Linked DNA regions of Homo sapiens: regions 1, 2, 3, 4, 5 and 6 are each linked to region 7. The links are contacts of gene promoters, found by promoter capture Hi-C in blood cells and fetal thymus (Javierre and others, 2016). All regions are on one chromosome and are shown on one strand. The core of a region is centred on a gene start or on the middle of the fragment in contact, and the rest is flanking DNA. Distances in the headings are between cores, read along the strand shown. Region 1 has its middle 26 kb from the start of TFB1M. Region 2 overlaps IPCEF1 (interaction protein for cytohesin exchange factors 1). Region 3 has its middle 100 kb from the start of OPRM1. Region 4 has its middle 6.5 kb from the start of TFB1M. Region 5 overlaps TFB1M (transcription factor B1, mitochondrial). Region 6 overlaps TFB1M (transcription factor B1, mitochondrial). Region 7 holds the start of SCAF8 (SR-related CTD associated factor 8).

What was found. The method cuts DNA at HindIII sites, captures the fragments that hold promoters and counts their contacts. A CHiCAGO score of 5 or more calls a contact.
Region 1: a contact is called between a fragment that was not itself captured here and the fragment with the promoter of SCAF8 in region 7, in 1 of 17 cell types (neutrophils). The highest score is 7.3, in neutrophils.
Region 2: a fragment that was not itself captured here is called in contact with the fragment with the promoter of SCAF8 in region 7 in 6 of 17 cell types (naive CD8 T cells, fetal thymus, M1 macrophages and 3 more); the score reaches 7.3 in naive CD8 T cells.
Region 3: a contact is called between a fragment that was not itself captured here and the fragment with the promoter of SCAF8 in region 7, in 1 of 17 cell types (monocytes). The highest score is 5.9, in monocytes.
Region 4: a contact is called between a fragment that was not itself captured here and the fragment with the promoter of SCAF8 in region 7, in 3 of 17 cell types (neutrophils, fetal thymus and naive CD8 T cells). The highest score is 15.0, in neutrophils.
Region 5: a fragment that was not itself captured here is called in contact with the fragment with the promoter of SCAF8 in region 7 in 2 of 17 cell types (neutrophils and naive CD8 T cells); the score reaches 6.5 in neutrophils.
Region 6: a fragment that was not itself captured here is called in contact with the fragment with the promoter of SCAF8 in region 7 in 2 of 17 cell types (neutrophils and activated CD4 T cells); the score reaches 10.0 in neutrophils.

What each region holds. Positions count from the first base shown.
Region 1 is chr6:155,339,073-155,342,262 of GRCh38, forward strand. No RefSeq gene overlaps it. Among named protein-coding and RNA genes, the nearest start is that of TFB1M, 26 kb to the left of the region's middle. The HindIII fragment of the contact is 4,422 bases long and covers 1-3,190 here.
Region 2 is chr6:154,157,862-154,160,920 of GRCh38, forward strand. It overlaps IPCEF1 (interaction protein for cytohesin exchange factors 1), which reads right to left. Exons shown (of 12, transcript NM_001130700.2): 12 at 1-2,179. The coding sequence ends at 1,967. It also overlaps a transcript of OPRM1 not described here. Among named protein-coding and RNA genes, the nearest start is that of OPRM1, 120 kb to the left of the region's middle. The HindIII fragment of the contact is 1,290 bases long and covers 611-1,900 here.
Region 3 is chr6:154,139,788-154,142,995 of GRCh38, forward strand. It overlaps a transcript of OPRM1 not described here. Among named protein-coding and RNA genes, the nearest start is that of OPRM1, 100 kb to the left of the region's middle. The HindIII fragment of the contact is 2,432 bases long and covers 463-2,894 here.
Region 4 is chr6:155,319,316-155,322,696 of GRCh38, forward strand. No RefSeq gene overlaps it. Among named protein-coding and RNA genes, the nearest start is that of TFB1M, 6.5 kb to the left of the region's middle. The HindIII fragment of the contact is 7,367 bases long and covers 1-3,381 here.
Region 5 is chr6:155,278,556-155,282,066 of GRCh38, forward strand. The region is part of intron 5 of TFB1M (transcription factor B1, mitochondrial); the gene reads right to left. Among named protein-coding and RNA genes, the nearest start is that of CLDN20, 16 kb to the left of the region's middle. The HindIII fragment of the contact is 4,898 bases long and covers 1-3,511 here.
Region 6 is chr6:155,299,795-155,302,857 of GRCh38, forward strand. All of the region lies in intron 2 of TFB1M (transcription factor B1, mitochondrial), which reads right to left. Among named protein-coding and RNA genes, the nearest start is that of TFB1M, 13 kb to the right of the region's middle. The HindIII fragment of the contact is 4,922 bases long and covers 1-3,063 here.
Region 7 is chr6:154,731,571-154,734,802 of GRCh38, forward strand. It overlaps SCAF8 (SR-related CTD associated factor 8), which reads left to right and starts at 1,846. Exons shown (of 20, transcript NM_014892.5): 1 at 1,846-2,360. The coding sequence starts at 2,331. RefSeq lists silencers at 1,479-1,718, 1,749-1,868, 2,019-2,618 and an enhancer at 1,879-2,382. The HindIII fragment of the contact is 14,602 bases long and covers 1-3,232 here.

The sequences.
Region 1 (3,190 bases), core at 623-3,122, 610 kb after region 7:
TCATATCCCTCTTTGTCTGTTTTAACCACTGTTGCTTTAAAGTTTGTTTTCTGTGATATAATAGCTACACCTGCTTGCTTTTGGTTTCCATTTGCATGAAATGCCTTTTTCCACCCCTATAAGTTTATGTGAATACTTAGGTGAGTCTCCTGAAGGCAGCAGATAGTTGGTTGGTGAGTTCTTATCCATTCTGCAGTTCTGTACCTTTTAAGTGGAGCTCTTAGGCCATTTACATTTAATGTTAGTATTGAAGGTACCATTGCATTCATCATGCTCTTTGTTGCTTGGGTACTTTGGTTTTTTGGTTTTTGTTTTTGCTTTTTAACTTGTATTTTTGTTTTATAGGTCCTGTGTGATTTATAGTTTAAAGAGGTTCTGTTTTGATGTGTTTCCAGGATTTGTTTCAAGATTTAGAGCTCCTTTTGGCAGTTCTTATAGTGGTTGGCTTGGTAATGGCAAATTCTCTCAGCATTTGTTTGTCTGAAAATGACTTTATCTTTCCTTCAGATATGATGCTTAGTTTTGCTTGGATACAAAATTCTTGGCTGATAATTGTTTTGTTTGAGGAGGCTGAAGATAGTCCCTTCTAGCTTATAGGGTTTCTGCTGAGAAATCTGCTGTTAATCTGATAGATTTTCCTTTATAGGCTACCTGGTGCTTCTGTCTCACAGCTCTTAAAATTCTTTCCTTTGTCTTAGCTTTGGATAACCTAATGACAATATGTCTAGGCAAAGATTTTTTTTTTTTTTTAAACAGTTTCACTTTTGTTGCCCAGGCTGGAGTGCAATGGTGCGATCTTGGTTCACCGCAACCTCCACCTCCCGGGTTCAAGTGATTCTTCTGCCTCAGCCTCCCAAGTGGTTGGGATTACAGGCATGTGCCACCACGCCCAGCTAATTTTATATTTTTAGTAGAGATGGGGTTTCTCCATGTTGGTCAGGCTGGTCTCAAACTCCCAATCTCAGGTGATCCACCCACCTCGGCCTCCAAAAGTGCTGGGATTACAAGCGTGAGCCCTCTGACTTTCAAATAGTCTGTCTTTGAGCTTACTATTTCTTTCTTCCAATTGACCAGTTCTGCTGTTGATGCTCTCTATTGCATTTTTTAATCTCATTAATTGTATTTTTTACCTCCAGGATTTGTTTGATTTTTAAAAAGTTATTTCAATCTCTCCCTTAAATTTCTCCGATAAATTTCTGAATTGATTCTCTGTGTTTTCTTGAAGTTTGTTGAGCTTCCTTAAAACAGCTATTTAAAATTCTTTGTCCAAGAGATTACACATTTCCATCACTTTCAGGGTCAGCTTCTGGCACCTTATTTTGTCTGTTTGGTGAGGTCATATTTCCTTGAACGTTCTTGATGCTTGTGACGTGTGACCATGTCTGAGCATTGAGGGATTAGGTATTCATTTTAGCCTTCACAAATTGGCCTTGTTTGTGCCTGTCCCTGTCAGAGGGCCTTCTAGGGATTTTAAGCAGACTGTCTTGGTTTTCCTGAGCCTGTGACCACTGTAGCTGTCTCAGCACTAGAGGACACTATAAGCTCAGGCTTACTCCAGGTCTTGTGAGGATTCCAAAGTTTGTGTGGCCTTCTGGCTCAGATGAGCCTGGTGAGGACCCAAGGAGGGTACTGGGGCTGAGTGGGAATACTGGCCAGTAAGTCCAGAAGACTGTCCTGATGGCTCAGATGGGTATGCCTCCCAGCAGGTCTCTGCACAGGTGATATAGGTCCCTGACTGCAGCTAGAGGGGCTGGATTTGAGACTGGGTCCCCTTGGGATCTGTTGTGAGAAGGAGACTGGCGGGCCTGTCTCATTGACTCAGGCATGCATCACACAGCAGGTCTTTGAAAAGCAACGTTCTTCCTTGTTACAACAGTATGGGCTGGAGCTGAGGCTGGGCCCCTTTGGGATCTGTTGTTAGCCACAAGTTCACTAAGTGCCCTGGTCATTGTGATTTGTACCATTAGCCTAATTCATCTGTTTTAGACTCCCAGGTCAACCCTACCCTTCTAGATTGACTTTGCTCCCCTTAGCCACAAATAACATCTTGCCTCATGGGGGAGGTACATCACCTATTAGCAGGAGCAAATAAGCTCTTAGAGATGGCCTGAGGAGCTTGCCTAAGCAAAAGCATGACTTTATGACATAGTATTTCTAGGATGACTGTATGTTCTGGTTTGCCTGTGACCATCTCAAGTTTATGTTTGTTGTCCAGGCATAATTATTAATAGTGCTCCAGTCATTGTCATTATTTGGATGAAATACGGTAACCCTACAATTTTCATCTGAGTAATGGGAATAAGATTGCCAACCCTTTTAAAAATTACACAGTAGTTCCTCCTTATCTGTGGTTTTGCTTTCTGTGGTTTCAGTTACTCATGGTCAACTGCAGTACAAAAACATTAAATGGAAAATTTCAGAAATAAACGAGTCATAAATTTTAAATCAAATGCTATTTTGAGAAGCACAATGAACTCTCATGCCATCCTGCTCTGTCCCACCCAGGTCCTTAATCATCCCTTTGTCCTGTGTATCCACCTGCCCATTACACTACCTACCTAGTTAGCCACTGACATCATGTGTTCCTGACATCCAACCATTGACATAGTCATGGCTTGATGATCCAGGATCACCCAAAGCAGACACTCTTCCTTCTGAAGGGTCATCAGAAAGTCAAATAGTTGCCTAATGCTGCATCACAATGCCTACTTCATTCACCTCATTTCATGTATCATGTAGGCATGTATCATCTCAAATTATCAGAAGAACAATGAGTACAGTGTAATAAGATATTTTGAGAGAGATAAAGAGAGCAAGCACATCCACATAACTTATTGTAGTATATTTTTGTAATTGTTCTATTTTATTATTTGATAATGTTAATCCCTTACTGTGCCTAATATATAAATTAAACTTTATTGTATGTATGTATGGAAAAAGTAGTATATATAGGATTTTATACTATTTATGGTTTCAGGCACGCACTGGGGCTCTGGAACATGTCCCCCATGGATAAGGGGAAACTACTATAATGCTATTTAGCAGATCAAATGAGATTATGTTTATGAAAATCTTTTAAAGGGATTTGAAGACAGCCTGCCCTGGCTGCATGAGGTGATGGCATTATTTGTTGTTGTTATTATCTGTTTTGGCTCATGCAGACGTATTAGTTCAAATTCCATTTTCTTGG
Region 2 (3,059 bases), core at 6-2,505, 570 kb before region 7:
ACTGCTTTCCTAAACCAGGGCATCAGGGTGCAATCTGAGGATCTGAATGTTCTCTCTGTCAGGTCACCACAGGTCAAACTCATCTTCAGTGGCTTCCCTAGGTGGAGAAGTACCCACATGTTTGCTGGGCCAAACTGACTGGCCTGGCCTCTTATCTTAGAGAAGTTTCTAGCAGTACAACTTGCTTCTTGTTTTTTGTTTTTATTTCTTAATGCTAAGGTTGTTTTTTGTTTGTTTGTTTGTTTACAGAGTATTAAGGCTTCTTAGTAAAGCTTGGGGAACTATTCAACAACTATTTCCATTTTGTTTGCAGATATAATTCAGGTGGTTCCTTCCATTTGAATGTCAAGCCACACTTTGAAGCTATAAAACAAAATAGGTTGTGTGAACAATTTGTTACGGGTAGGCAGGGCCAACATGGGTACTTGGTGGGTTGTGGTTATTCCTATGGTGAGAAATATTCATGGTGATTAGTAAGGGAAGACTTTCATATTGTTTCTCTATAGCTCTCTTTAACACAATGATTTCTAAATTTCTATTAGTCTTTAATGAAAAGATGACATTAGTTGTGTTGCCTTTGGTCTAAGGTTTGCAGGCATAAATGGCACAAAGCTTAAAGTTTATTTAATAGAAAGGATAATCTAAGATGAAAGTCCTTTGCTGGTTAAAAGAGTGACTTACAAGAGATAGAAATCTAAATTTAAGAGCTCATGGGGGTTGGGGTGGGGAAGAAAATGAAAAATTATGAATGCATGCCCCATTTTTTTCCCACAAGATTTCCTGAGCATTCCTCAGACACAGTGCAACATCATAACACCAGTGAATCAATAGTATTTCTATTTTTCTCAAGCAAAAAGTATAGACTCATCAAATATATACTAAGCACAATATATAATAGTATATCATCTTTTAAACACTAGTAATTTGAACTTCTATAAATATATTTAAATAACAAACATAGCTATTCACATAGCACACAAGTGACATATAAACATACAAAAATAAATCCCTCATGTTTAACTCTTTTGTTGCTTCCATGGGTTTTTGTTTTTTTGTTTTTTTGAGTAAAGATATTAAAACAATTCAGATGCCAAAGTCGTCTTGTCAATATTGATCCTGGGAAACCTGGATATAAATTCACACTATGTATAGGGATCACAGCCAAGGACAAGAGCAGTAGACATTCTTTGCGGAACATATTCCTATCTCCTACCATTGAGTAGGAAAGCTCAAAGGAAGTAGAGGTCTCCAATTGTGATGAGATGTTTTCTCTAGCTGTTGTAAGGAAAGGAAACATTAATCAGATCCCCTAACCTGCATAAAGTGTGAAAACACCAAGCTGTCCTTTGAATGAGTGGAATATGGAACACGCCTCCTCCTTCAGCTCTCCCACATGCCACTGTCTATGAAGCATTTCTCATCACATGGAAAAGGCACCACCATTCCATACCAAAGGCAAGGAATTTTTGTTCTGCAACACCACGTTTGTCCTTCCAGTCACTGCTCTAGAAAACATTCCTCCACTCAAACAGTGATTTGGGCCACACAGCTTCCCAGTCAAGTGGAATATGTACATTCTTCTTTTGAAAAACAGAATGTTTCCATGGGCAATTACTCCTGGTAAAATTTGATTCTTGTCCATAGCATTCTCTGGAGAGCAATGAACAGAAGAGACATTTCTCACATCCCCCCTAGAGCCCCACATCACCGTGAGCTCCCAGTAGGAACACAAAAAACGCCTTTCAACTGAACTCAATCATTCCAATCTCAATGGATGCGTTACGACTGAAATGAGGAGCCCTGGTGTATTCGGTGATTATCTTCATCTAACGTGCATCTTTAGATGGGAAGCTGATGCTTGAAGGACTGGGTTTCAGTTTTCCTTTTAAGGAAAAATGTAAGCTTTTGCAACATCTTGAAGAGTTGCTTGTGATAAAATATAAGAGGAGAAAACCCTGACTTTGTCTCAAATGGAATTTTCAACAGAGGGAGAAGAAGGTGATTTCTTGAGTTCCTGGGGGGTGTCATCAGTGTCATCAGGGGCAGGCGAAGCCCGCTGCTGCTGATAGATGTCCTGGATCAGCAGGGTGTTCATGACTTTCCACTCTCTGTATTTCCTGGCTGTCAGCTTCGGGTCATCCAGCAACTGGTTAATCATGGCCAGATCATGTTCTTTACACTGTGTGAGTAGAAAAAAAGGGGAAGGGGGTATGTTGAGAGTGTCTTAATTTACATAAACCATCTTTACCAACTCTTTTACAAGTACACATATACATAAAATTACCAAAGCATTTTTGCACGTTAATGTTCTAATTCCAGCATTAAGCTTAAGAAATACGACATTTGTTTGCATACGCTAGCCGCAAAGAAGTGAAGTATCCTACCCAAGAGTTAGTGGAAGAGCTAGACATATAGCAAAGATCTTCTATGTTGCCTTTCCCTGATCAATCCATTATTCCACACCACAGTAACAATTCTACCTTGGTGTGGGAATCATGCCTCCTAAAACTTACCATTGTAGGTATTAGCATTTTATTGACAATCCAAACTTCACTAAGTAAAATTGGAACGTAACACTTTACCTAGGACATATGGCAACATAAAATATGTCTTTTAAGATTTTATTAAATTATCTTTATTTTTAATAAATCACATTTATTTAATACAGAATAAATACACAGATTATCTTTTCAGTCAAAGAAGAGGCTACTAACCTTCCATCAAAACAGTATGTATTCCAATAATGCTAATAAACAACCTATTGGTGCTATTCCATTCTGCCTCCTCTGTAACCAATGGCACACATTTCTGAAATGTCTAGCTCAGGTTAGAGTTTTCTATAGACAAGGAATGGAGTATAAATAAGATGTTCATCCTCCATATTAAAAACAAATATTCAGCCCTGACAATTGTATCTCAAATCTATGCCTGTTTTCTCCATCCCATGACCATAATCCTAAGGTTGGATATCCAGTTCAATATATCACGTTTGATCTGCTGCCACAGCCTCCTGAGCGAGACCACTGCCTCCAATGCCCACTTCAACTCCACCTCCACTT
Region 3 (3,208 bases), core at 429-2,928, 590 kb before region 7:
ACATCTAGCTTGCTAGAAATTTGATCAAATGCTTATCTTCTCCACGGTATATGAAATGGAAGACATGATCTGCAGACCAAGATGACCAGAAAAAAGAAGCGTTCATTCCCCTGGCCCGCAGTTTAAATTCCCCGGTGACGTTATCTCTTGGGGGGAACAAAAAAGAAAAATCACACTTGAATCAGTCTAGGCCAAAAGCAATTGAGGAAGCAACCATCCCATCTCCAGTTCCCCGCCCTCTTGAGAAAACCAGAACGGAGGGCCTGAAACATTGATATGCAAGTCACTCTCAAGCTATGACTCAGTTTTCTTCTCAAAGCAATTAACAATTACCAGCATTTATTCAGTGAATGGGAGTCAGGCAAACAGACAGACACTGACAGTCTGTCATTATCGCAACAAAAGAACCACAGCTTTTATCCTCCCCAGAGGAAGTAAGACTTTAGAACTCTTCAACTTTCAAGCTTACATACTTCCCTGACCTATGGTTTATTTCATCATCAGCCTTAAAAATAATAGAAAGTTTAGCCGTTTATGTTATTTTATTTTTTTTTTTTTTTTGAGAAAGAGTCTCGCTCTGTCACCCAGGCTGGAGTGCAGTGGCACGATCTCAGATCACTGCAACCTCCATCTCCCAGGTTCAAGCGATTCTCCTGCCTCAGCCTCCTGAGTAGGTGGCATTACAGGCGTGTGCCACCACACCAGCTAATTTTTGTATTTTTAGTTGAGACAGGGTTTCGCCATGTTGGCCAGGCTGGTCTCAAATTCCTGACTTCAGGTGATCCGCCCGCCTCAACCTCCCAAAGTGCTGGGATTACAGGTGTGAGCAGCCCCGCCTGGCCTTATTTTTGAGGCACTACTTGGAGATGGACCTCCCAAGAATCATATGCAGCTCCAGATAGGGCAAAAGGAGGCCATTATGAATCATAGATATACAGGTCAACCCACAGAGGGCACCCTGCCTACACTCCCTACCCTATTGACGGCCTGGCAGGAGAAGGCACCCTTTCTGCAAACTTCCTGCAGACTGCATCCTATTGGCCACTTCCTAACTACTCAGATGCTGTTTTTAATGTGATCAAGTCCATTCAAGAGTTGGTTGTCACATGTCCATTTGAGGCCAGCACTAGATGCTGTAGAAGCCAGACTGAATGAATGACTCACGTATGGCCCCAGCTCTTCAGTACTAGACTTACAGTTTGATCAGAGCCTCAGTCATGGAGCCAAGGCAAAACCAGAATGTTCACTCCTTGGTGGTCTCATGGTTAAGATTTGTCACTCTCAAACTAGAATCAGATCCACCCCTGACTGTTATTGGATGCAATACATTTAGCTATTCTGAGCCTAGGTTTAGTTTTCTCATTCATCAGAAAGATAAAACCTACCTCACATAAAAGAGATAATGGACACAAAGCACCTTCCCTGATGCTCAGTACATGGGCAGCGCGTGTTAATGTTATAAATCACCCGCTTATCCCAGTCTTTACCAGCTGGTGAGTATAAATATTCTAACGGTTAGCTTACCCCTAAGTCTCAGTGCTCTATCCCCTAGGTCTGTCATGCCAAAACTCCAGTCTTTTCCATTAATTTTCTCCCAAATTATTTCCTCTTGGAGGCCTTGATGGGGGTGGGGCTGGTGGTATTCGCAGCAGCCCTGTGGTCTGAAGTCGGCAGAGCTCTGTGTGAAGCCCGAAAATTTGAGACAGGTCTCAGTTAATGTATCAAGTTTATCTTGCAGAGGTTGAGGATGTGCAGCTGTGACACAGCCTCAGGAGGTCCTGACGACATGTGCCCAAGGTGGTCAGAGCACAGTTTGGTTTTATACATTTTTGGGAGACGTGAGACATCAATCAACATATGTAAGATGAACATTGGTTCAGTCCAGAAGGGCAGGACAACGCGAAGCGGGCAAAGGGCTTCCAGGCCACAGCTAGGTGAAAGACAAGCTGTTGCATTCTTTTGAGTTTCCGATTGGTCTTTCCAAAGGAGGCCATCAGATATGCATTTATCTCAGTGAGTAAAAGGATGACTGAATACACTGGGAGGCAGGTTTGCCCTAAGCAGTTCCCGGCTTGAATTTTCCTTTTACCTTAGTGATTTCAAGGCCCAAGATATTTTCCTTTCACATCTCCCAATCCACAAGCCTCAGTTCCTGCCTTACATTCTGCCTCTCATGACCAAGTTTTACACAAGTGGTTGCTAGTAGATCTGTGGTACTGGTATCATCTTTGATTTCTCCTCTCCAGAGTGCTCAAGCATTTGAAAGTTGGAAAAGATGCAAATAGCCCAACTCTCACGCTCTGGACCTGTAATCTGTCCCCTCCAACCTCTGGCCGTCTCTGCTGGGCTTGTGTTACAGTGGGTAGCTCATCAGGCATGAGCAGGGCAGGACAGGACTCCCCACCCCACCCCTCCAGGAAAGTCAGGTGATGGTCAAGCAGTTGTCACACTGCCCCTCTAAAATAACAATAGGTCGCAGCCAGCGCCAGGGAGAGGCAGTCTCTCCATAGATAATAACACCTGAAATTGGTCATCAGCAGCTTCCAATAAGATCTCAGGAACTGGGTGACTGGGCTCGACCATGCACATTAAGAGGCAAAATGGGTAGTATGACCTTCTGGGGACATTCCACCAGAAAAGGCGAGAACACCTCAGGCGAGCATGTGTACAACTCCAGTAAACACACTGTGTACTCTTGTCGCCCTGGGATTATAGGCCACTGAGCATGCAGGCGGCTCTCCCTGAAGGAAGAATCCAAGGAAAGGGGCACTAGACTCCAGTAGTCGACCAGAATATAAAATCCTAGATCCAAGGTCAAACGGGGCACTTGTCCTTCAAGTCACCCACCTGGGCCTCTTCCAAGTGTACTTTCCTTTCTTTCATTCCTGCTCTAAAGCTTTTTAAGAAACCCTTACTCCTGCTCTGAAACTTGCCTCAGTCTCTTTTTCTGACTTATGCCCCTCAGTCGAATTCTTTCTACTGAGAAGGCAAGAATTGAGGTAGACTTGCACGGATTCCCCTCCACTAGCTCGGATACCTTCCACTGCTCACACTTGGCCTTTTAGCCTTGCAGTCCATGGTTTCTGCCACTCTTCTCATTCTCTAATGCAGCCTCATCTGAGGTTCCCCCAATTCCATCAAATAACTGAGACCTATCTGAACCCCAAGGGAGGACCAGTTCTTCCTTACAATTCTTCCAGGTTCCATA
Region 4 (3,381 bases), core at 445-2,944, 590 kb after region 7:
TGAACAGTAGTATTTTAAAGAATCTAAAGAATCTTTTTTTTTTTTTCCTGAGCAGTAGGTCTCAACAATGACTTAAAATATTCAGTAACCATGCTATAAACAGATGTACAGTCATCCAGGTTTTGTTGTTTCATTTCTAGAGCACAAGTAGAGTAGATTTAGCATAATTCTTACTTGCCCTAGAATTTTTAATAAGATAAATAAGCATTGGTTTCAACTTAAAGTCAACAGCTTCATTAGCCCCTAATAAGTGTTAGCCTGTTGTTTGTGGCTTTGAAGTCAGGCATCAAATTGTCTTCTCTAGCTATGAAAGTCCTAAATGGCATGTTCTTCCAATATAAGGCTGTTTTGTCTACATTGAAAATCTATTATTTAATATCACCACATTCATCAATGATCTCTTCATCCCCTCAACACCTGTATCCCATACCGTCATCGATTCCCAAAATCCTATCTCCACAACAGATCTCACACTTGACCTCTCCAGTTCTGCTGCCAGCATCTTTCACTTTCATTCCTGCAACAGCTTTCAGTCTTGTTCTACAATACATTTATATTCAGCAGCAAAATGATCTTTAAAAGTGGAAATTGGATCACTTCACTTATCTGCATACAGCCCTTCGGGGGCCTCCCATTGCATTTAAAATAAAAATCTAATCGCTCGCTATGGACTAAAAAACCTATGTCCAACCTCATATATATCCACCTTCCTGGAGATAAGCTGTGGCCATGCTGGTCCTCTTTCAGTTCCTCAAACATGCCAAGTGCTTGCTTCCTCTCTTTTCTTGCATATGCAGTTTTTCTCTGCCTGGGATGATCACCTCCCACTCTTCAGCTGGCTATCGCCTTTTCTTTCTCTGTCTCAACTTCAAGGTGACCTCTTCAGCTAGAGCTTTTCTTGACAAATTCTAACAAGGGAAGAACCTAATTTGACCTTTGACAAGCTCTCCTTAAGAGTTTGCTCTTCTATTGCTTCCTTCAATTTTTTTATTATTATTTTTTTTTTACCATAGTCTTAAGTGTCACATCAACACATTTCCTCCAAAGGTTCCATCTTGGTAGAACAGGTTCAGGTTCAGAGTACAGAACTGCTCCTCTTTTTCTCTATCAATGTCTTTGCTAACTGACCTACCAAAAGGTGACAGTCAATGTCTAACAATCAGAAAAAATGCCAGAGGTCACAGAGCTGGAGTTAGATCTAGATCCTCAGGCCAAGCATTAACTCTTTGGTTGGTGGTTTATGAGGACTTCTAGGAAGTCTTAAGGGAGAATCCAGTGTGGCTCAGGCACCAGTGGTGGGTATTTTGGGGAGCCTGGGAGTATCTATTTTTGGCAGTTGTGGCTGTGTCCTAATTCAGTATTGTAACAAGTATAATATGGCCATTCTGGTACATTCAGACTAAGTATCAGTCAGTCCTGTTTCTACTCAAGGGTCTCACTACCTGTTCTGTGACTCTTCATCTCAGTCTTGTTTGCCCCCTTTGGTACAACTACCCTTTATTTTCGTTATTATTTTTGTTGCTTATTTGTTTTTCTGTATATATGTCTGTCTTCCCTACTAAAATGTAGGATCCATGAAAACAGGGCAGTATCTATTTGTTCACTAAAGTGAACCAATTGTTCACCTAGAAAAAATGCTGATACACAATGGATATTTAATACATATTTGCTAAATAAATGAATGAAAATGACTTCCTCTGATTAGTTAGGCTACATTTTATTTTCTATAAGAATATGCAACTCCAAAATTTATAGCTGTTTTCAAACTTTTAAAAGTCCTAGGTAGATCTTTTTGTAGACTGTCTTATATTTCTTCCCAAGAACCCCTAACATGAAGCCATCACAGTAGCCTTTCCAAGAAGTTTATGTTTCTAAGTCAGATCTCTTTCTCCACCTCATGCTCCTCTTTAGCTTAAAATTTTTCCTGGTTCCTTTTTTTCCACTTACAGGGAGAATGTTCAGATCTCTTACTATGCCACTCAAGGTCTGACACGATCTGGGTCTAAATTCCTTTCTAGTTGCATTTCTGTCACACCTTCCTTTATTTCCTTAGTATATCCTGAGACCTGCTACTCCAAAAGAATGCCTCTGCAACTTTATCCGCTTTGTGGGGCAAAATCCTATTCATTTTTCTGGGCCCAACACAAGTGTGACTCCTTGTGAGAAACTTTTTGATATTTATTGACCACCTTCTTGTCACGCTGTCCACTCTGGTCCTGATCCCTTCCACTCTGAGGTCCTGTTGTGCTGCATTCATAAACCCAGCAGAATCCATGTTGCATTTTGCAATATAGTAACTTGCATCATCATATACTGCATTGTAATATAATATAATTTCAGGGCCTCCTTTGTCAGACTCTCAGCTCTTCAAAGAAAACAGCGTATTTTATTCATCTTTGTGTATGCAGCACTAGCAGGGTGCCTGGCACACAAGGGGCACCAAGATATGTTTCCTGACCAGACCTAAACCATGGAGATTGTTGCCAGTTTTAGACACAAACTGTACAGCAAACTGTATTGAATAGAGCAGGGGTGCTGGAGTTAAGAAAACTTGGGTAAAAATCCAGGCTCCATCCTCCTTTTACTTATGTGACCTTGGGCAAGCTACCTAATCTTTTTGGAACTTAGTTTTTGTGGTAAGCAGAAAAATGGCCCCCAAAGATGTTCACATTCTAATCTCTGGAAAATGTGAATATGTGAGGTTACATGGCAAAAGGGAATTTAGGTTGCAGATGGAGTGTAGGTTGCCAGTCAGCTAACTTTAAGACAGGGAAATGATCCTGGATTATGCGGGTGAGCCCATTGCAATCACGAGTCCTTAAAAGTGGAAAAGAGAATTGGAAGAGAGAGCCAGAGAGATGACAGTGTGTGAAGGACTTGGCCTGATGTTGCTGGCTTTGCAGATGGAGGAAGAAGGTGGAAGAGGTTCAAGAGGCAAGAAGGTTGAGCATCCTCTGGAAGCTGGAAAAGGCAAAGAATTTGATTCTCCCCTAGAGCCTCCAGAAAGGAAGGCAGCCCTGCTGACATCTTGATTTGAGCTCAGTGAGAGCCATTTCAGACTTCTAAATGACTGAACTATAGGATAATACACTTGTGTTGTTTTGAGCCACTAAGTCTATGGTAATTTGTTACATCAGCGACAGAAAACCAATGTAGCTGCTTTGACTGTAACATGAGAATAGTAACAGATGCCTTATAGCATTACAAAATATGTATTATGTCTCATTATACTTCATAAGACAATGCATGTAATGGACCAAATATAGTGCCTAACACACTGAAGTTGTTTCATAAATTCATTAATTCTCTTCTCCTTCCCTCTTCCTGTGTGAACATGCTCATCTAGTAGACATAGATCTAGCTATATATAATCAACATACA
Region 5 (3,511 bases), core at 100-2,599, 550 kb after region 7:
CATGCCAGTCCTGGCTTAAACCTAACAACTCTACCAGGTAGGCACTATTCTCAGGATCTTACAGGACACTGAGGGCGACAGAGGTGACATAAGTTCCCTAACTTGCCCAAGTTCACACAGCTAGTAAGTGGGGAGATGGTTCCAACCTGAGGGAACCAGGTTCTGGAGTCAAACTACCCGGGTGCAAGCCCTGGTGTGGGTGCATGGTTACACAGCATGCATTACTTAACTAAGGTCTTGGTTTGCTTAAGAATGGCATCTACCCTCAGAGTTCTCGTGGGGATTAAATGAGATGATACACAGAAAGCAGTTGGTGCACAGAAAGCATATGACTAGTGTTACTCAATGGTTCTTAGTCTAATCCAGTGGCTCTCCCTGGGGTGAGTTTAGCCTGCAGGGGACATTCGGCAATGCTGGGACACTTTTTTGGTTATCTTAACTGAGGTAGTGCTACTGGAATCTAGTAGGAAGAGGCCAGGGATGCCTTTATGTATCTTACAATGCACAGGACAGACTCTGGCAACAAAGAATTATCTGGCCCCAAATGTCAACAGTTCTGAGTTTGAGAAATCATAGTCTAATTTATCGAATATACTTATTCATTCTTCTTTGATAAAAAGTTACCAAAACAAAACCCAAAAGACCAAAAATATCATACTTTTTTTTTTTTTAACCTGTGGAGCACGTGTATATCTATACATATGACTGAAGAATTCATCTAGTAATTCTGACAAAAATGATAGACTTAAATTAAGTCAGAAGAATTGGGTACAAAATTGGGATGGGTTTGGGAGAAATTTAGGTAATGTCAGAAGCTGGTTAACGACTGACTAGTTCTGAGGGTCAGCAGTTGTAAAGGTCTGGGGAGGTGGTGCTTAAGATGACCTCCAAGGTTTAGGCTTGGATGACCTGGGTGGATGATGCCATTAGTCAGCATAGTGAATAAGAGGTGCAGGGAGGGCAGGCCCACTAGGGTAGTTAGACAGAAGTTCAGTTTTGGATGTGGACAATGTTTTCTCATATGTCTTTCATCACTATATTGTCAGCTACATGACTTTAGCAAATACTAACTTACTTGACTTTTGAGATTTTTAGCCTAGCCTATAATTCTGCAGAACACTATCACATTATTATCATTATCTCCAGTTACTTTTGTATTAATTTCATTGCATTTTATACATACATAAAAGTACTGTCTGCAAAAATGCAATTTTGTTTTTTCCCTCCTTGGATTTAGAATACTTACCATTTATTCTTGAGCAGTTTATGGAAGCATGCCTAGTACTGAATTAAAATTGTAATAGCAAATACTCTTATCTCTATTCAACACGTATTTTACCTGATTTTTAAGGAGGATGACTCTGGTACTACTTTAATTATAAAAATGGCTTTTGGTTTATATTTATTTTTATTTTGGACTCAAGGGCTTTAAAAAAGAATTTGAGGCAACTTATAAAATTGCAGGTATAATAAGTATAAAAACAACTGATAAAGATGAAAGACTAAAGTTACAAACAAAAAGAAGAGAGAAAAAATGCTATTAAATGTTCCTGGTTGAAGCATGCTAAAGCAATTAAACATGAAACTTAGTTTAGAACTTCCAAGCAACTGCGGCAGAGAGGTGGCCATGTAAGTAATCTGACAGCTTTGTCTACTGGTAGGAAGCTAGACAGGATGCTGTGTCTTGGCCAAGCTCCTTCCACTGGGCCAGGGCAGCCACCCCCAGCTGCTGGCACTGATGGGTGCTAATGGCTCCCAGAGATGGAGCTGCCTCTACTGGGAAGTGACTGCCCCACTGCTCCCTGCAAAGACTGGCTGGCACAGGTTCCAATAAGCTGGTCCCTTGCCTCAAGGGAACACAGACGCGTGGGGCAATTTGTGCTACACAGCTTCTCCTCCCGCCGTGGTTCTAGGCTGAAGCTCCTCCAGGAGGAACAATATGTTTACTTAGCTCTTCCCCTGCCCTTTCCTGCTACCCTCATGCCCCTTCTCCTGAGGGCCCTTGTCAATACATCACCTTTATGAAAATCCCATCTCAATCTGATTCTAGGAGGAGAATACAAACCAAAGACAGAAGAGTCTTAGTTAAGTAGGAAAACACTAGTGTTCTGACCTCATACCAAAATGATTCTTGAATACAAGGTAAATATACAGCAGAAATAACATCCTCAATGTCAGATTTCAAAAAACACAAAAGCATGAAAAACAGTTGTCTCTTCTGTGGACCCATCCACCCACCAAACTCAAGACTATCTCCCACAGAGGTCAAGGCCTCAATAGCTGTGAACAAGCAGGGTTGGAAGCCTCTAAAACGCTCTTCAAAAGTCAAGAGTGGATGTCTCAAGTTCCAATCTTTTCTTTATATGTCATGGATATATCATTAATTCATCTACAATTTAATGGACACTATTTATGCTTTAAATGTGTACCATGTTTGAAGGTAACTTGTTCTATATACCACACTTCCAAATAGGAAAAATTAAATATAAATTCTATATATAGCTTAAAAATTATAATCCTTATTTTTATATCAGAATACTACAACTTAGTCCATAAATATTTGTTTATATCATAACAATAACAACTACTTTGACTGGCAGCATTCACTGCCAGATACTCATATTAGGCACTCTGCATTGATTATTTCTATTCCTCACAAATGTCCTTCAAGGGTGGTATTATTGGTCAAATCTGGATGTAGTAAACTCAGCCTATTAACCCGACCAAGCTCTCAAAACTAGCAGTACTGGAATTCCAGCAGGTCTAGCTTACTTGGAAGTCTACTGCCTCTACCAGTGTCAATTAAAAAGAACCCGTTACAACTCTCATAATATAACTAAATGATTTTTCTACTAAGTCAGAGTAGAGAATAGTGTTGAGAACTGGCTGGGCGTGGTGGCTCATGCCTGTAATCCCAGCACTTTGGGAGGCCGAGGCGGATGGATCACCTGAGGCCAGGAGTTCGAGACCAGCTTGGCCAACATGGTGAAACCTCGTCTCTACTAAAAATACAAAACTTAGCGGGGCATGATGGCGGGCGCCTGTAATCCCAGCTACTCGGAAGGCTGAGGCAGGAGAATCATTTGAACCCAGAAGGTGGAGGTTGCAGTGAGCCGAGATTGTGCCACTGCACTCCAGCCTGGGCGGCAGAGTGAGACTCTGTCTCAAAAAAAAAAAAAAAAAAAAAAAAATAGTGTTGAGAACTAAAAAGCCTTTCCACTCTTTACGAACTATGTTAGATTATGAAGCCTATCACCATAATTCATAAAAAAAAAGACAGAATTTTGAGGATCTAGCTAATAGCTCAGTATTTCCCAAACTTGAGAAATGTGCAGAGTAGCTGAAAAAAAAGATTAAGCGTGGAACCCCAGAAATATGTGGATTCTCAGGGATCTACAGAGGCTAATAGAGAAAAGCTAGCTTGAGAAACTTAAGAAACAGGTTGTATTCTGTCATGAAAACAATTTTAGTTCTGAATTTGCATTGCAAAAGACATTGTCTTGTAAATGTA
Region 6 (3,063 bases), core at 394-2,893, 570 kb after region 7:
TAAACAAGATGATCACAGAAGCCAGAGAGGAGACACTGGACCAAGAAACATGGCTTGTGGATTAGTCCACCTTTGTGTCAACACTGTACTGTGCGTCTGCCTCTTTACAGCACTTACAAACTGTATCTCAATTTCCCCTGCAAGGACATATGCTCCTTAAGGGCAGGACCCATTTCCTATCTACCTTTATAGCCCCTGTAGCTACAGCAATGCATGGTGAGTGTTTAATACATATTTAAGAAGTGCATGAATAAGTGAATGACCAAATGGCATTCAGGTCTCTGTAAAGCTGGAAACTTTCTCTTTTAGCCTGGGAGATGTTGGCTTCCCAAATTTGTAGGGTCTAGAAACTTGCAAAGATTTACTTCACAAGTCAATCAGGCAGATTTATACAAATAATCTTCCAGAAATAAATAGCTGAAACGCCTCTATTGGTAAGAGGCTAAACATACTTTTAAGTCTGGAAATCATCTAGTTTGATATGTTTAGCCATGGTAGTTTAGCAAAAATAATTGCATGCCTCTGATACTAATGTACTTATAGATTATTTTAAATTACCACTAGTTAGTAAAACTTGATCTGGTGAGTTCCAGGCAATAAATCTTGGAAAATATAACGATTTCAATATACTAAAAATTTAAAAAGAGACAGCTCTCTATGCGGCATGCTCTTAATGTATAAAACCACATATTTAATCACAGTACTTATCATCAATGGAAAACGCTAAAATTTTTTCTATAATTATGTTCACAAAGTTAAAACAAATTAGCACGCCAAAAACAAAGAGGCAGAACTAATAGCTTAAGTCTCATGATGTCAATATATAGAAAGTATTTAATAATTAGTAGTTAGGACTAAAACACAACAGAACAATGTAAATTTGGCTGTTTGACGTTAACTTAATTTGAAGTGTTAACTTTTCCCACCCTGACAGGTACAACTGTATATCTAAAAGCTAATATAATATAAATAAATTTACCTTCCTTTCCTGGGTTTTCTTTTTTGTTTTTGTTTTTTGTTTGTTTTTTGAGATGGAGTCTCGCTCTGTTGCCCAGGCTGGAGTGCAGTGGTGCAATCTTGGCTCACTGCAACCTCTGCTCCTGGGATTCAGGCAATTCTCTTGCCTCAGCTTCCCTAAGAGCTGGGATTACAGGTGTGCACTACCACACCTGGCTAATTTTTGTATTTTTAGTAGAGACGAGGTTTCACCATGTTGCCCAGGCTGGTCTCTAACACCTGACCTCAAGTGATCTGCCCGCCTTGGCCTCCCAAAGTGCTGGGATTACAGGTGTGAGCCACCATACCCAGCTCCTTTCCTAGGTTTAAAACTACATTTCTTTTGGATTCCCATTCACTTTTCAATCTCAGTCAATGACAAACCAAATCCTCCCCACACTTTAAAAGGTACACCTCCTTCTTGACAATTTGTAGCTTGATCTACTTTGCAACTCCCCACTGCAGAAGGAATGAACGCTCATGTTAACAGATTTATGTGAAGTCCTTAAAGCAATTATGGGGAAACAGTGCTAGACAGACTAAATTGATATTATGATTATAGACAGTACCCTTTTAAACACTTCAAATGATATTAGGCAATAACACATGAAGACCTTCTAGCCAACCAGTAGCAGAAATGTTTTCACTACCATAATGATACATGGGGTATGGTGGAGGGGGTGGGAAAATCACTATTATATGCATTCGAGAATAACAATGGAGCATTACACTTCAAAACCCTGGAGGTGTTTTCACAGAATGTGCTTAAAGGCACAGCCAATCACAAATGCAGGCACCAGATTACAGCCAAATGAGTATTTTTACAGACACTCTCAAACTCTTCTTTCATTTTTATTTTAGTGTTCAATTCTATATTCTTCCAAAATGAGATGTATGCCAGTTTAGAGTAAAAGGCATCATTACATAAGGCTATAAAAGAAGAAACCGAAAATCAAACCATGAAGAGGGGAAGCATATATGTAAAACACAAGAGCTAACAATCCTAACAATCATGACAGCTAGCTCTCGTGATTTACATAATGAAATATATAATTTTTGCTTTTCAATAGTAGTTGTACCAAGACTCCAAGAGATAATTTTTTTTTCCCTGGTATTATGCTTTGTAAAGGGTACATGAAACAATGTAATAAACAATGCCTTTAATACAAGTTAAAACACAAATGTAGAAGCATTCTTTCTGTGGCCATTTAAAAAAAAATCTCTTCTCTAACCAAAGTCTTAGTGAAAGCTCCTCTGCAGGGGGCAAGTAATTGTGGTTTGGCTAGGCAGCTTTTTGTTGATTTTACTGGATGAGGAAAGAATTTAGGCAATTCTTAGAACTTACACAAAATTATCGATTCCTTAAGAAGAAATACTACATTGAATACCCATTTTGCATATTTTATGTCACCTTCTCATGTAAGGGGTTCATGGCAGCCAACACTGTAGTTACGTTAATTATCTTCTTCCTGATTTGCCACATAGTAGGGCCCAAATGCTGTTGAAATAAATATTTGTAACAGGGCTGGGCAAAACTGTTAAGCAAACTGTATGAGAAGGAAAGAATCTATAGTATAAAATATAGTAGGTGAAAGATAAAATTTGTATTCTTATATATAACACATATAAAAGACTACTGCTATTTATTCATTAAAAAATTAAGATGTTACAGCAGACTTTTCAGACTTTTAGAGGGAAGGTTACAGCATGATGTCAAAATGTCAATTAGCTTGCTTTATTTTTTTTTAGTATGTAAAATAACTTGAATTGTATTAAAAATGTACGTTTTCAGACTTTCTCAGTATTTTAAATTTATGAACAGAGCAAAAACAAACAGAAATCACATAACCACTCGTATCTTAAATGATACTACAAATATCTAAAATTATTTTTATAGGAATTTTAAGTTTGTTGGATATTTCAATGTCATTATCAAATCTTTCACTCTCTTTTTTAAATTTGACATTAGATTTGTATTAGTCCGTTCTCATGCTGCTAATAAAGACATACCTGAGACTGGGTAATTTATAAAGGAGAGATGTTTAATTGACTCACAGTTCAGCATGG
Region 7 (3,232 bases), core at 596-3,095:
AGTACAGACGGGATTTCACCATGTTGGCCAGGCTGGTCTCGAACTCCTAACCTCAGGTGATCCACCCGCCTCGGTCTCCCAAAGTGCTCGGATTACAGGCGAGAGCCACCACACCCGGCCTCAAAGCAGTGACTTCTGATTGTGAGAACCTGGCATGCACAGAACTGAGTGCAGTACTTTCTCAAGCCACAGTAAATGCTCCTTTAGATGGAGTGATTAGGGGACCTCTTTCAGGAAGATTGAAGGAGGAGGAGTCAGCTATGGAAAGGACAAGAGCAACAGCACCCTGTGTGAAGAGACACAATTGTCCTACCTATGAAAACACTGCTTCTTGTCAAGTAACAGAAAGGCCAGTGTGGCAGGAGGAGAGTCAGGGAGCAAGGGAAGGTGGTGTGAGCTGCGGCAGGCTGGGCTGGGCCTTCAGGCCATGGTGAGAAGTTATGATGGTATCAAATGGGCAATGAGAAAGTATTTAAGGGATTTAAGTAAGGGAGTGACCTGATCTGATTTATCTAAGAAAAACATCCCTCGGCTACTGTCTGGAAATGAACTGTAGGAAGACAAGCAAGGGACCAGTTAGGAGGCTACTGCAAGTGTCAGTAAAAGATCATGGCTAGGCCTGAAGATGGGAGACGGTGGAGAAATCTGTGACAGAATTTGAGATTTTGAAAGTAAATATAAAAGCACTTGGTGAGTTATCCCTGTTACCTTCTCAGTAGCCAGGCCCTATACTAAAGCTGCCAATGAAGTAGAATGAAGGCTCTGAAACCTCAAGAAGGGCCTTACTTTCCCAGTTTCACGGGGCTCTGCGCACAGCTCTTAGGAACTACCTTGATTCCAAAACTCTCCAAAAGTACGATCCTGCCCTTATGTTCCTCTCTCCCTTTGAGTGAATTTGGGAATGATTGTTGAAAAATGACTTTCAACAAGAGGACAGCAGTGTTCGGGGTTCCACGATACATCCCTATCTTTTAACATCGATAAGTATTTTTAAATTGGTACCTTATTTTGCGCTGCACGAGAGAGAAGGCTTTTTACTAGCAGCATCTCCTAATCCATCTAAGAAATACTGTATTTACCTTTACTCCAAGTATCCTAGGGCAAAATTCCTTTAGAACAATTCATCTTCCGAAACAGACGGGTTCCCTTTTCACCTATTCAAGTGTTGTGCATTCTAGGGTCCCCTTCCCGCCTTGCAGACAAATGCGCTCATTGTGCCACTCCAGTCCCTGGATCCTATGCAGCGGGCATTTCCTGCAAGGAGCTGCTGCATGCCTGTTTCCCTCGCCGCCTGCCCCAACCCGAATCCAAGGCTTTGGTTTCTAATGTTCCCTCCCTGTGCAGTTAAAACAATTGAGTTCAGTTACTAAATAGATGACCAGGAACTTTTTCTTGGCGAAGGCTGCGGATGTTTAGGGCACTGTCCAGTAAAGTTGTGAAAAGCAACTAAACCCTGCCGCTTGTGCAAAAGGACCAATCCACCGGGAAACAAGGGAAACGCGCACATTTCCTCAACTTGCCGCTTCTTGGGCACGTTTAGGCTCTTATTAGAGCCGCGCTTTGGAGTTGCCTCCTCCTGCTGTACAAACCCGCCGCGGCGTTCCCCCGGATGCCGCAGCGCTCACTCCCGCGTCCGCGGGGCGCGGGGAGGGGGCGAGGCGCGGGCGGCCCCGGAGCCAAGGCGAGGGCAGCGGAGCCCAGCCGGGCCTACGGGCGGCGACGCTCTGGCCCCAGCGCGCTCGATGGTTTCCGCGCGGCCGCCGGGGCTCGCACGGTCCAGTCGCCAGGGGGCGCGCTAGCCGGCGCCGCGGATCCCCGAACTGCGCGGCCCGACTCGAGTCCGCCATATTGGATGCCGCAGCCGCTGCTGCCAGCGCTTCCTCCTCTGTCTTCGCCGAGCGGGGCTGGTTCCTGCGGCCCGAGCGGCGGGGAGGTGAAACAGGAGCCCGTCGGAGGAAGGGGCAGAAGGGAGTGGAGAGTGTAGGGGAAGGGGCTAGAGGGAGGGGGACCGAAACGGAGCGGGGCAGAGAAGAGAAGGCGCCGCGGCCCAGCCCCTCCCCCGCCCGCCGCCGACCCGCCCCGGCAGCGCCTCTGTTCCCTAGAACGGCGCTCCCCCCGCCCTAGCGGCCATGCCGGTGCCGCTCTGCCGCTGAGGGAGCCCTTCCCCGCCAGCGCGTGCCCTTCCACTCCGCCCCGAGGTCGCAGCGGCCCGCTCTCCCGCCAGCGCCCCCTCCTCGCGGCCACGCAGCAGCCCGCGTCTCGCTCTCCCCACCCAGTGCAGTGGCCGCCGCCTCTTCCGCCGCCGGGCTCGGGGCCTCCGCAGCGACAACATGGAGGCCGTGAAGACCTTCAATAGCGAGGTTGGTATGGCAGCCGGGTTCCCCTGCTCCTGCCCGCACCGCCCCCACCCCTGGTCGAGGCCGGGGCCCGGAGGGTGGGCGCGGGCCTGCGGGTTTTTTAAGGGTGGGGTGAGCGGTGGCCTAGCAGTGCCCGTGGGGGAGGGGTGTTTCTCCTCTGGGTGCCCCTCCCCCGGGTCCGGGAGGAGGGTTGGGGGAGGGCCGCCCTGGGGCGGAGGGAGGTTCTGGCGTCTCCGGCGTCCTATGGAATGGCTGCGAGCTCGGAGGGAAAGACCCGGTTGGGCCCTCACCCGGAGACTCCCGACAGGTCCCTCGAGGTCAGTTCCGCCGAGGCCTGGCCCGCCCACCTCCTTCCTGGGCCTTTGAGGATTTAAGTGGACGCTGGACATGACTCTCCAGACCTTCCCGGGTCCTCACTGAGGCTAACACCGATTGGGGGCGGTGGGGGAAATGAACCTACGGGGTGTTGATCTGTGGTCACGTTACACGTAGTGTTTATAATTGAGGCATTGTTGACTAGGTAATTTGCCAGCTAGGGACTTGAGCTAATTGGATGGTTGGTAGGCAGGCAAAGGTTATTCTGCAATATCTTTTATTTTTACTCGCTCCTCTTCTAATCCATCACGACATAAAGACAAATGGTAGGGAGAGATCTGTGCATCGAGAGATGGAAGATTATGGGGGAAACATTTCTCGCTGGTTCATTCACGTGTCAAACAAGATTTTAAAAAGCAGATTCCATTTTCACTGTGTAGTTGAATTTACTAGTCTGGAAGAAGACAGGTTTTGATGTATTCAATTTCTTTTTAAACTCCGACTTCAATAGGCCTTAATGTAAACATCAAACATAGCAAGTACACATCTGCACAGTCAGC